Regions from separate parts of the Homo sapiens genome. Here region 2 is linked to region 1. Evidence: promoter capture Hi-C in 16 types of primary human blood cells and fetal thymus (Javierre and others, 2016). All regions are on one chromosome and are shown on one strand. Each heading gives the region's core, a stretch centred on a gene start or on the middle of the fragment in contact. The rest is flanking DNA. Distances are from core to core; before and after follow the strand shown.

The links. The method cuts DNA at HindIII sites, captures the fragments that hold promoters and counts their contacts. A CHiCAGO score of 5 or more calls a contact.
Region 2: the fragment with the promoter of PCDHB6 here is called in contact with the fragment with the promoter of PCDHGB6 in region 1 in 4 of 17 cell types (endothelial precursors, naive CD8 T cells, naive B cells and 1 more); the score reaches 7.2 in endothelial precursors.

Annotation. Positions count from the first base shown.
Region 1 is chr5:141,405,448-141,410,122 of GRCh38, forward strand. PCDHGB6 (protocadherin gamma subfamily B, 6) reads left to right here and starts at 2,574. Exons shown (of 4, transcript NM_018926.3): 1 at 2,574-4,675. The coding sequence starts at 2,756. The region is part of intron 1 of PCDHGA1 (protocadherin gamma subfamily A, 1); the gene reads left to right. All of the region lies in intron 1 of PCDHGA2 (protocadherin gamma subfamily A, 2), which reads left to right. All of the region lies in intron 1 of PCDHGA3 (protocadherin gamma subfamily A, 3), which reads left to right. It also overlaps PCDHGB1, PCDHGA4, PCDHGB2, PCDHGA5, PCDHGB3 and PCDHGA6, and 6 more genes. RefSeq lists an enhancer at 2,983-3,032. The HindIII fragment of the contact is 5,535 bases long and covers 1,552-4,675 here.
Region 2 is chr5:141,147,145-141,151,819 of GRCh38, forward strand. PCDHB6 (protocadherin beta 6) reads left to right here and starts at 2,913. Exons shown (of 1, transcript NM_018939.4): 1 at 2,913-4,675. The coding sequence starts at 3,114. It also overlaps PCDHB@. The HindIII fragment of the contact is 6,099 bases long and covers 1-4,675 here.

The sequences.
Region 1 (4,675 bases), core at 1,324-3,823:
CTTACTCTGTTACCCAGGCTGGAATGCAGTGGTGTGATCTCGGCTCATTGCAACCTCCGCCTCCCAAATTCAAGCGATTCTCCTGCCTCAGCCTCCCAAGTAGAGTAGCTGGGACTAGAGTAGAGTAGCTGGGACTACAGGCCTCCCAAGTAGAATAACTGGGACTACAGGCACGTGCCACCACGCCCGGCTAATTTTTTGTGTGTTTTTAGTAGAGACGGGGTGTCACCATGTTGGCCAGGCTGGTCTTGAATTCCTAACCTCAAGTGATCCACCCACCTCAGCCTCCCAAAGCACTGGGATTACAGGCGTGAGCCACTGCGCCTGGCCCTTAACTTTCTATTATAGTTAGCTTTCTCTTTAACTGTCTGTACTTAAGGTAGTATAAGTTGATATCAGTGTGTTTCTCATCACTTTTCACTGGGCCTAATTGTTGCTCCAACACTGAAAGGAGGCATTTATTAGTTATATTTGCTGATATAACTTTCATGTTCTCATAATAATTAACCTGCTGTCAACGTAAACCATACTTCATGGGGTAGCTCTCAGCCTGCATTGATGTGGGCTTTTTGGGTAGGGTTGCTTCATTGGTTGCAGTGGACTCATATCATAAAATTCTTACTCCTTTTTTTTTTTTTTTAAGAGATGGGGGTGTCATTCTGTTGTCCAGGGTGGAATGCAGTGGTGTGGGTAAAGCTTACTGCAGTCTCAATCTCCTGGGCTTATGCAATCCTCCCACCTCAGCCTTCACAGTAGCTAGGACTGAGGTGGGAGGGCTAGCAAGCTATGTTGCCCAGACTGGTCTCAAACGATCTTCCTGCTTCAGTTTCCCAAAGCACTGGGTGAGGTGTGAACCACCTCACCCAGCAAATTCTTACTCCTACGATCATTTATTCAGGTCATACTATGTTTGTAAGGGTAAACTGATAAAAAGGTAAATGTATTCTTCTTAGAGAAACAGCTGAAAGCCCAGATTTATTGCTTCTATTCTTCCATTTCTATGACAGGAAAACACCTCTTTGAGGTTATATTTTTCAGATCACAAGTGTGTAAAGTCTGTTTGTGTTTACAGATATTTTCTGACGAAGATTCAAACTTCAGTTATCCACTTCCAAACCCTAGTAAACCAATTTTTTCCCTTTAATGGTGAAAGTTGTCACATCTTTTATTCTCATATCTTCAAAGGTCTTAATTTCCTAATGCTTTAATGTTAAATTATGGAGAATAGTAGGACATTCTTCTTTTCTATAGTATATGCTTGCTCAAGAGAAGTTTCTAAGACTGGACACTGTGAAATGACAAAACAAGGAATTAAAAATATTTCTCTCACTTATATATTATTTCTGGCTCAATTCTCCAACTTTTGAGTCTAGAAATGAACTTGCATATCAGATATAATTTAAGAAAATATTCTCAGGAACTGCTGGGAAGATTCTAAAACTATTTTACTGTTTTTAGCTATAAGGAAGAGAATAATGTATTATTTAATGTTATTTTAAACATAGTGTTGTTTCAAATAGTAAATAACATTTCACAAGACATTTGAAAATAAGCTTTGAAGTTGACTCAAAATTCTATGCTAAACATGTGATCCATAGATACACTGATGACTGCTGGCATTTCTGTGGAAATGAAGAATTGTTTTATTTGTTTGTAATTATTTGGGTTTCAGTTGCTTTATTTTTAAGAAAAAAAAGCTGAAGTGTCTGGGAATCCTTTATGACATACAGACATTTTAATTATTTCAAACACGTTTTCCCCCTTAAGTGGGTAGCAAAAAAAATAAAGCATACTTCAGGCTCATATTTTTAACCATGCAACAAGAAAATTGTTACAATTTCTGTTCTGAGGAGTAGCCTTCATACTTAGTATTTATAAATATTGAAATGTATGTTAATTTGGGGAAAACATAACAGATATCCATGAAGGCTTGTATGTCATGGTAGGTAGTTACTATTCGATACCACAAAAATGTCTCTTGCCCTTAAAACCAGAACACGAGGCTCACCAGACAGATGACTGAATGGAGTATGGAAAATCTTTATTTCTGTTTTTCTTAGGCTATGTAGGACTTAACTTATTGTGCATTGGTAACAGATTGTAGAACATAAGCTGAAAGATAAAATTCTTGACCTTAATGTCTCATCTTAAAAAGAAGCATTGGTTGACATTCTATATCTCGTATTACTTAAAAATAATGGGGGAGCGCAGTATATATTAAACAAAGATTGGCTTTGTGGTGATCATTGTTGAAGGTGGGGTGATGGCTATGTGAAGGTTCACTATATATACTCCCTACTGTTGTATAAGTTTGAAATTGTGCATAATAGATTTATTTAAAACACAAAGCATAGAAATATCTACTATAATATTATGGTGAGAGCAAAATTTGAGGGGGATGTACACCTGCATTTTCGAAGAATATATACATTTCGGAGACCGAATTCAAAATGAAAAACCGGGCTGCTGTCCCGCACGGAGCCTCTGGGCGCCGCTGTCGGCCAGTGCAGAGCAAGCGCTGACGCCGGGGATCCGTCAGCCTCTGGCCTGGGATTCCCTGCGCAGCCAACAACAGAAAGAAGAAAACCAGCTCCCACACAGAGCCTCCCGGCTGCGCAGACCTTTCCCAGCACAGCGGATTGCCAGCTCCGAGACCCGGGACTCCTCCTGTCCTGGGCCGAATGCTCTTTTAGCGCGGTAGAGTGCACTTTCTCCAACTGGAAAAGCGGGGACCCAGCGAGAACCCGAGCGAACGATGGGAGGGAGCTGCGCGCAGAGGCGCCGGGCCGGCCCGCGGCAGGTGCTATTTCCTTTGCTGCTGCCTTTGTTCTACCCCACCCTGAGTGAGCCGATCCGCTACTCGATTCCGGAGGAGCTGGCCAAGGGCTCGGTGGTGGGGAACCTCGCTAAGGATCTAGGGCTCAGTGTCCTGGATGTGTCGGCTCGCAAGCTGCGAGTGAGCGCGGAGAAGCTGCACTTCAGCGTAGACGCGGAGAGCGGGGACTTACTTGTGAAGAACCGAATAGACCGTGAGCAAATATGCAAAGAGAGAAGAAGATGTGAGTTGCAATTGGAAGCTGTGGTGGAAAATCCTTTAAATATTTTTCATGTCATTGTGGTGATTGAGGATGTTAATGACCACGCCCCTCAATTTGATAAAAAGGAAATACATTTAGAAATTTTCGAATCTGCATCCGCTGGTACACGACTATCGCTTGACCCTGCCACGGATCCTGATATAAACATAAACTCAATTAAAGATTATAAGATAAACTCTAATCCTTATTTTTCATTAATGGTTAGAGTTAATTCCGATGGTGGCAAATACCCAGAGTTATCTCTGGAGAAACTCCTAGACCGGGAAGAACAGAGATCTCATAGCTTGATATTGACTGCCTTGGACGGAGGGGACCCACCAAGAAGTGCCACCGCTCACATAGAAATTTCTGTCAAGGATACCAATGATAACCCCCCGGTTTTCAGCAGAGACGAATATAGAATTAGTCTTAGTGAAAATCTGCCCCCTGGGTCCCCTGTGTTGCAAGTGACAGCCACTGACCAGGATGAGGGGGTCAATGCTGAGATAAACTACTACTTCCGAAGCACTGCCCAGAGCACAAAACATATGTTCTCATTGGATGAGAAAACAGGTATGATTAAGAATAACCAGTCATTTGATTTTGAAGATGTAGAAAGGTACACCATGGAAGTGGAAGCGAAGGACGGAGGTGGTCTCTCTACCCAGTGTAAAGTAATCATAGAAATCCTTGATGAAAACGACAACAGCCCAGAAATAATCATCACTTCTCTCTCTGATCAGATTTTGGAGAATTCACCTCCAGGAATGGTTGTTGCCCTCTTCAAAACACGGGATCTGGATTTCGGAGGAAATGGAGAAGTCAGGTGTAATATAGAAACAGACATTCCATTCAAGATTTATTCTTCTTCCAATAACTACTACAAACTGGTGACAGATGGAGCCCTGGACCGAGAGCAGACACCAGAATACAATGTCACCATCGTAGCCACTGACAGGGGCAAGCCGCCTCTTTCTTCCAGTAGAAGCATCACCTTGTATGTCGCTGACATCAACGACAACGCCCCAGTTTTCGACCAGACGTCCTACGTGGTCCACGTGGCCGAGAACAACCCGCCAGGAGCCTCCATTGCGCAAGTGAGCGCCTCTGACCCGGATTTGGGGCTCAATGGCCACATCTCCTACTCTATAGTGGCGAGTGACCTAGAGCCCCTGGCGGTGTCGTCATACGTGTCAGTGAGCGCGCAGAGCGGGGTGGTGTTCGCGCAGCGCGCCTTTGATCACGAGCAGCTGCGCGCCTTCGCGCTCACGCTGCAGGCCCGCGACCACGGCTCGCCCACGCTCAGCGCCAACGTGAGCCTGCGCGTGTTGGTGGGAGACCGCAATGACAACGCACCGCGGGTGCTGTACCCAGCTCTGGGTCCTGACGGCTCCGCGTTCTTCGATATGGTACCTCGCTCTGCAGAGCCCGGCTACCTAGTGACTAAGGTGGTAGCGGTGGACGCCGACTCGGGACACAACGCCTGGCTGTCCTACCACGTGCTGCAGGCCAGTGAGCCCGGACTCTTCAGCCTGGGGCTGCGCACTGGGGAGGTGCGCACGGCTCGAGCCTTAGGCGACAGGGACGCAGCCCGCCAG
Region 2 (4,675 bases), core at 1,663-4,162, 260 kb before region 1:
GATTCAATTTGTCCTTGAAGGTCTTTTCCTTTCTCTTTTGATAAACTTGAATAATTTTTTAAAATTATAATGGGATTAACTGAAACATAAAATGGAAATCAGCTTGATCAGCTATGTAGTACAGGTACAGGTTGGGCATCCCTAATCCAAAAATCCAAAAATAGGAACTGCTCCAAAACCCAAAACTTTTTGAGCCAACCTGATGCCACAAGTAGAAAATTCCACACATAAGTACGTAATGCAAACTTTGTTTCATGCACAAAATTGTTTAAAAATATTAAGCAAAATTACCTTCAGCCTATTTGTATAAGATGTATATGAAACTTAAATGAATTTCATGTTTAGACTTGGTTTTCATTACCAAGATATCCCGGTATGTACATGCAAATATTCTAATATCTAAAAAATCTGAAATCTGAAACACTTCTGGTCTCAAGCATTTTGGACAAGGGCTGTTCAACCTGTCATTACAGGCTAACTAAATAAAATTAATTTTAACATACTTTACAATGTTCAGTCAGTTGAAATACTATTTCAGCTTGCTGGTAACAGTCCAGCTAAATTAATCTATCACTTCACTTTAGCATACATGAGCATAAAGAATATGGGGCATGGTGCTTTTTCACATTGTCTACTTTTCCATCATGTGTCCAGATGAGACCAAGGTTTTGCTCCCCAGTTAACAAAACTGAGCTTCAAAATATGATTAAGATGATTTCCAGTGAATGATGAAAATGTTCCGTATCTTGAAAAAAGTGTGAGTTACACACATGAATCCATTTGTTAAAATGGTACAGTTAAGATTGGTGCATTTCAATTTCTGTAAACATTGCCTTAAGAAAAGAACTATACAAAAGTAATCATTAAGCGGGAAGCAGAGAATGGAGAGAAAGGTATAGACAAAACAAGACAACAGAATGTTGTGAAACTGATTGTGTACAGAGGCTTATTCTGTTTACTTTGTATATGTTAGAATTTTTCCATAATAAAAATTTTAAGTTAATGAGTCCTTGTGAGAACATGTTTACGAATGCAAACTTAATTCAACTCTACTCTAGTCAATCAAATCAAAGCAAAAGAGGGCAACACAGAGAAACATTCTCCTGAAACAATCTAACGTAATCCATTTTCTATAAAAAGGCAGTTTCTTGATAGACCCAACTGATATCTTTTTGGGGTACTTTGAGCTATTATCCTCTTTCTATATAACTACCAATGTTATCAAAGACATTTCAAGGATCTAAATGGAGTTTGACAAATACTGTACTGCTGATAAATTTGCTCTGACGTAAAAAAATAATTCAACAACCTATATTCGAGGATGCCTGGTGGTGCTTCAGAGAAACAGAGTGAATAAAAGACTTTGTGGATGCCGTTAAGCTGGAATCAGAACTCAGAATGCTCACCGAAAGAAGGAAGCATTTAAGATTGAGCAGGAAATAATGGCCTTGTTTCAGCAAAGAGATGACACCAGTCCAATATGTTTATTATTGTTGGTTTATTTCATAATTTCATTTTGTTACATTCTCAAGGAACAGTGTGTTCCCAGTAGCATCTATCAAGTGAACCCTGGAGGCTGGTCACATTCATAATCTTTTGTTTTTCTGGCTACATAGAGGTGATTTTGAACTACAAGATCATCTCAGCTATTCAGAGTTTAGATTTTATTTAGCCTTATTTGTTTTGCCTAGCATTTATGTATTTGAAAATATCTTGATTTTTAATCTTCTATCACCTTGGCCCTTACCTGAAGTGAACTTTGTTTGAACTCAATTGATTTCACCTCTCAATAAATATGAAATTAATCTGAAATGAATTGAATTGTTTGGCATATTTTACCTCTTCTATGTGCACTAATCTATTTCACACATTTTCAGTTTGTTTAGAGATACATGTTCCAATGTATCTGAGTAGAAACTAGTGAGATGGGAATGGATATAGCCATAATATTCCATCATTGAATTCCATGGCATTCACTCAAATGTAACTCACCTGTTTTAACAGTACCTTAATTTGGCCTGTATTTATTGGACTTGGTGTTCTTTTTGCTGTGAGAAGACGGTGAAGGTGATTCTTGAATGTTTGTTTTCTGTGTTGCATCATGTTTGTACAACACGGTAATATATTTGGACCTTGATTAAATAATGTAAGAGGGGAATTTGATCAAAAAATAAAATGCACAAGACTGTTAAAACAATGTCTAATTCTATCCATGCAAAAATGGAGTAGAATCCTAAAATGCTTATGACAACTACTTGATTGCTTCTAGTCCCTCTTTTAAATACTTTAATTTACTTAGATACATGTATCATACGTACTTCTTGGCCTCAGTTTTCCTCCTAATAGCCTAATTGTTCTTTTTACTGTGCAGGCATAACTATATAACAAAGTAGGTTTTTTTTTTCATGCCATTTATGAGTCATATAATTTAGATAATTTATTGTTTATTTTACCATTATTGTTGCTAACAAACTTCGTTGTTTTGCATTGTTTGTTGGGACAATTAAATAGTGTACCTCTTGGACTAATAGATTAAATAGTTCATCAGAGATAAATTGCACTGCTGAAGCATCAAAGGAGAAAGACTGAAGTGTAGAATCTGCACTTCAATCTTTCTCCTTAATTAGCACCACCAGGGAATTTGATTCAAGTTCTAGAGGGGAGTGAACCCAGGAATTGGCTTAAAAACAAAAACATACACACAAAAAAACCAACGCTCGCAAGCAATTATTTATGCATGCGGTCCACGCACTCAGTTTGAGAAACACTGACTCGACTTAAAAGTCTTTATAATGCTCAGATTTCTGAAATGCTATTGACCTGAAAACATCTCATGAAGTTATTAGTTTGAACGCGTGGTGGCGGTACAAGCTAAGAGAGTGAATGAAAGCTCTGCAGACTCGGTGGACTCCGTTTCATCCAGAAGCCAAGTAAAAATACAGACCACGTTTACAGCTAAAGCTGAGATAGATGTGTCCGGGAAGGCAGTCGTCGCCAGACAAGTTGTAAGAACGAATTTAAAAATCTCTGCAAAGACATCCGAGAGGGTCGACGGTAGATGTGGTGATTGGGAGCTGAAAAGGATTTTTCTTCCGTATTCAGACATAATAGACATGATGCAAACTAAAGTACAGAACAAGAAAAGGCAAGTGGCTTTCTTCATTTTATTGATGCTTTGGGGAGAGGTGGGTTCTGAATCGATTCAGTATTCCGTATTGGAGGAGACAGAAAGTGGCACGTTTGTGGCCAACTTGACAAAGGACCTGGGACTGAGGGTGGGGGAGCTGGCTTCGCGGGGCGCTCGGGTTGTTTTCAAAGGGAACAGACAACATTTGCAGTTTGATCCACAGACCCATGATTTACTGCTAAATGAAAAACTGGACCGGGAGGAGCTGTGTGGCTCCACTGAGCCGTGTGTGCTACCTTTCCAAGTGTTACTGGAAAACCCCTTGCAGTTTTTTCAGGCTTCCTTGCGAGTCAGAGATATAAATGACCACGCCCCGGAATTCCCTGCCAGAGAAATGCTCCTGAAAATATCAGAAATTACTATGCCAGGAAAGATATTTCCTTTGAAAATGGCACACGATTTAGACACCGGCAGCAACGGCCTTCAGAGGTACACAATCAGCTCCAACCCTCACTTCCACGTTCTCACCCGCAATCGCAGCGAAGGCAGGAAGTTCCCGGAGCTGGTGCTAGACAAACCGTTGGACCGCGAGGAGCAGCCCCAACTCAGGCTAACGCTGATCGCGCTGGATGGCGGGTCTCCGCCCCGGTCAGGGACCTCCGAGATTCAGATCCAGGTTTTGGACATCAATGACAACGTCCCCGAGTTTGCTCAGGAGCTCTATGAAGCACAAGTCCCTGAGAACAACCCCCTCGGCTCTCTGGTTATTACCGTCTCAGCCAGAGATTTAGATGCAGGATCGTTTGGGAAGGTATCTTACGCCCTGTTTCAAGTCGATGACGTCAACCAACCCTTCGAAATAAACGCAATCACAGGAGAAATTCGGCTGAGAAAGGCTTTGGATTTTGAGGAAATTCAGTCTTATGACGTGGATGTTGAGGCTACAGATGGTGGAGGCCTATCAGGAAAATGCTCTTTAGTCGTCAGGGTCCTGGACGTGAATGACAATGCCCCTGAACTCACCATGTCGTTCTTCATCAGCCTCATCCCAGAAAACTTACCAGAGATCACAGTGGCAGTTTTCAGTGTTTCAGATGCAGACTCTGGACATAACCAACAGGTTATTTGTTCAATAGAGAACAATCTCCCCTTTCTACTAAGACCTTCCGTGGAGAATTTCTACACCCTGGTAACAGAAGGCGCGCTGGACAGAGAGAGCAGAGCCGAGTACAACATCACTATCACGGTCACTGATTTGGGGACACCAAGGCTGAAAACCCAGCAGAGCATAACTGTGCAGGTCTCCGACGTCAATGACAACGCCCCCGCCTTCACCCAAACCTCCTACACCCTGTTCGTCCGCGAGAACAACAGCCCCGCCCTGCACATCGGCAGCGTCAGCGCCACAGACAGAGACTCAGGCATCAACGCCCAGGTCACCTACTCGCTGCTGCCGCCCCAGGACCCGCACCTGCCCCTCTCTTCCCTGGTCTCCATCAACGCGGACAACGGCCACCTGTTTGCCCTCAGGTCGCTGGACTACGAGGC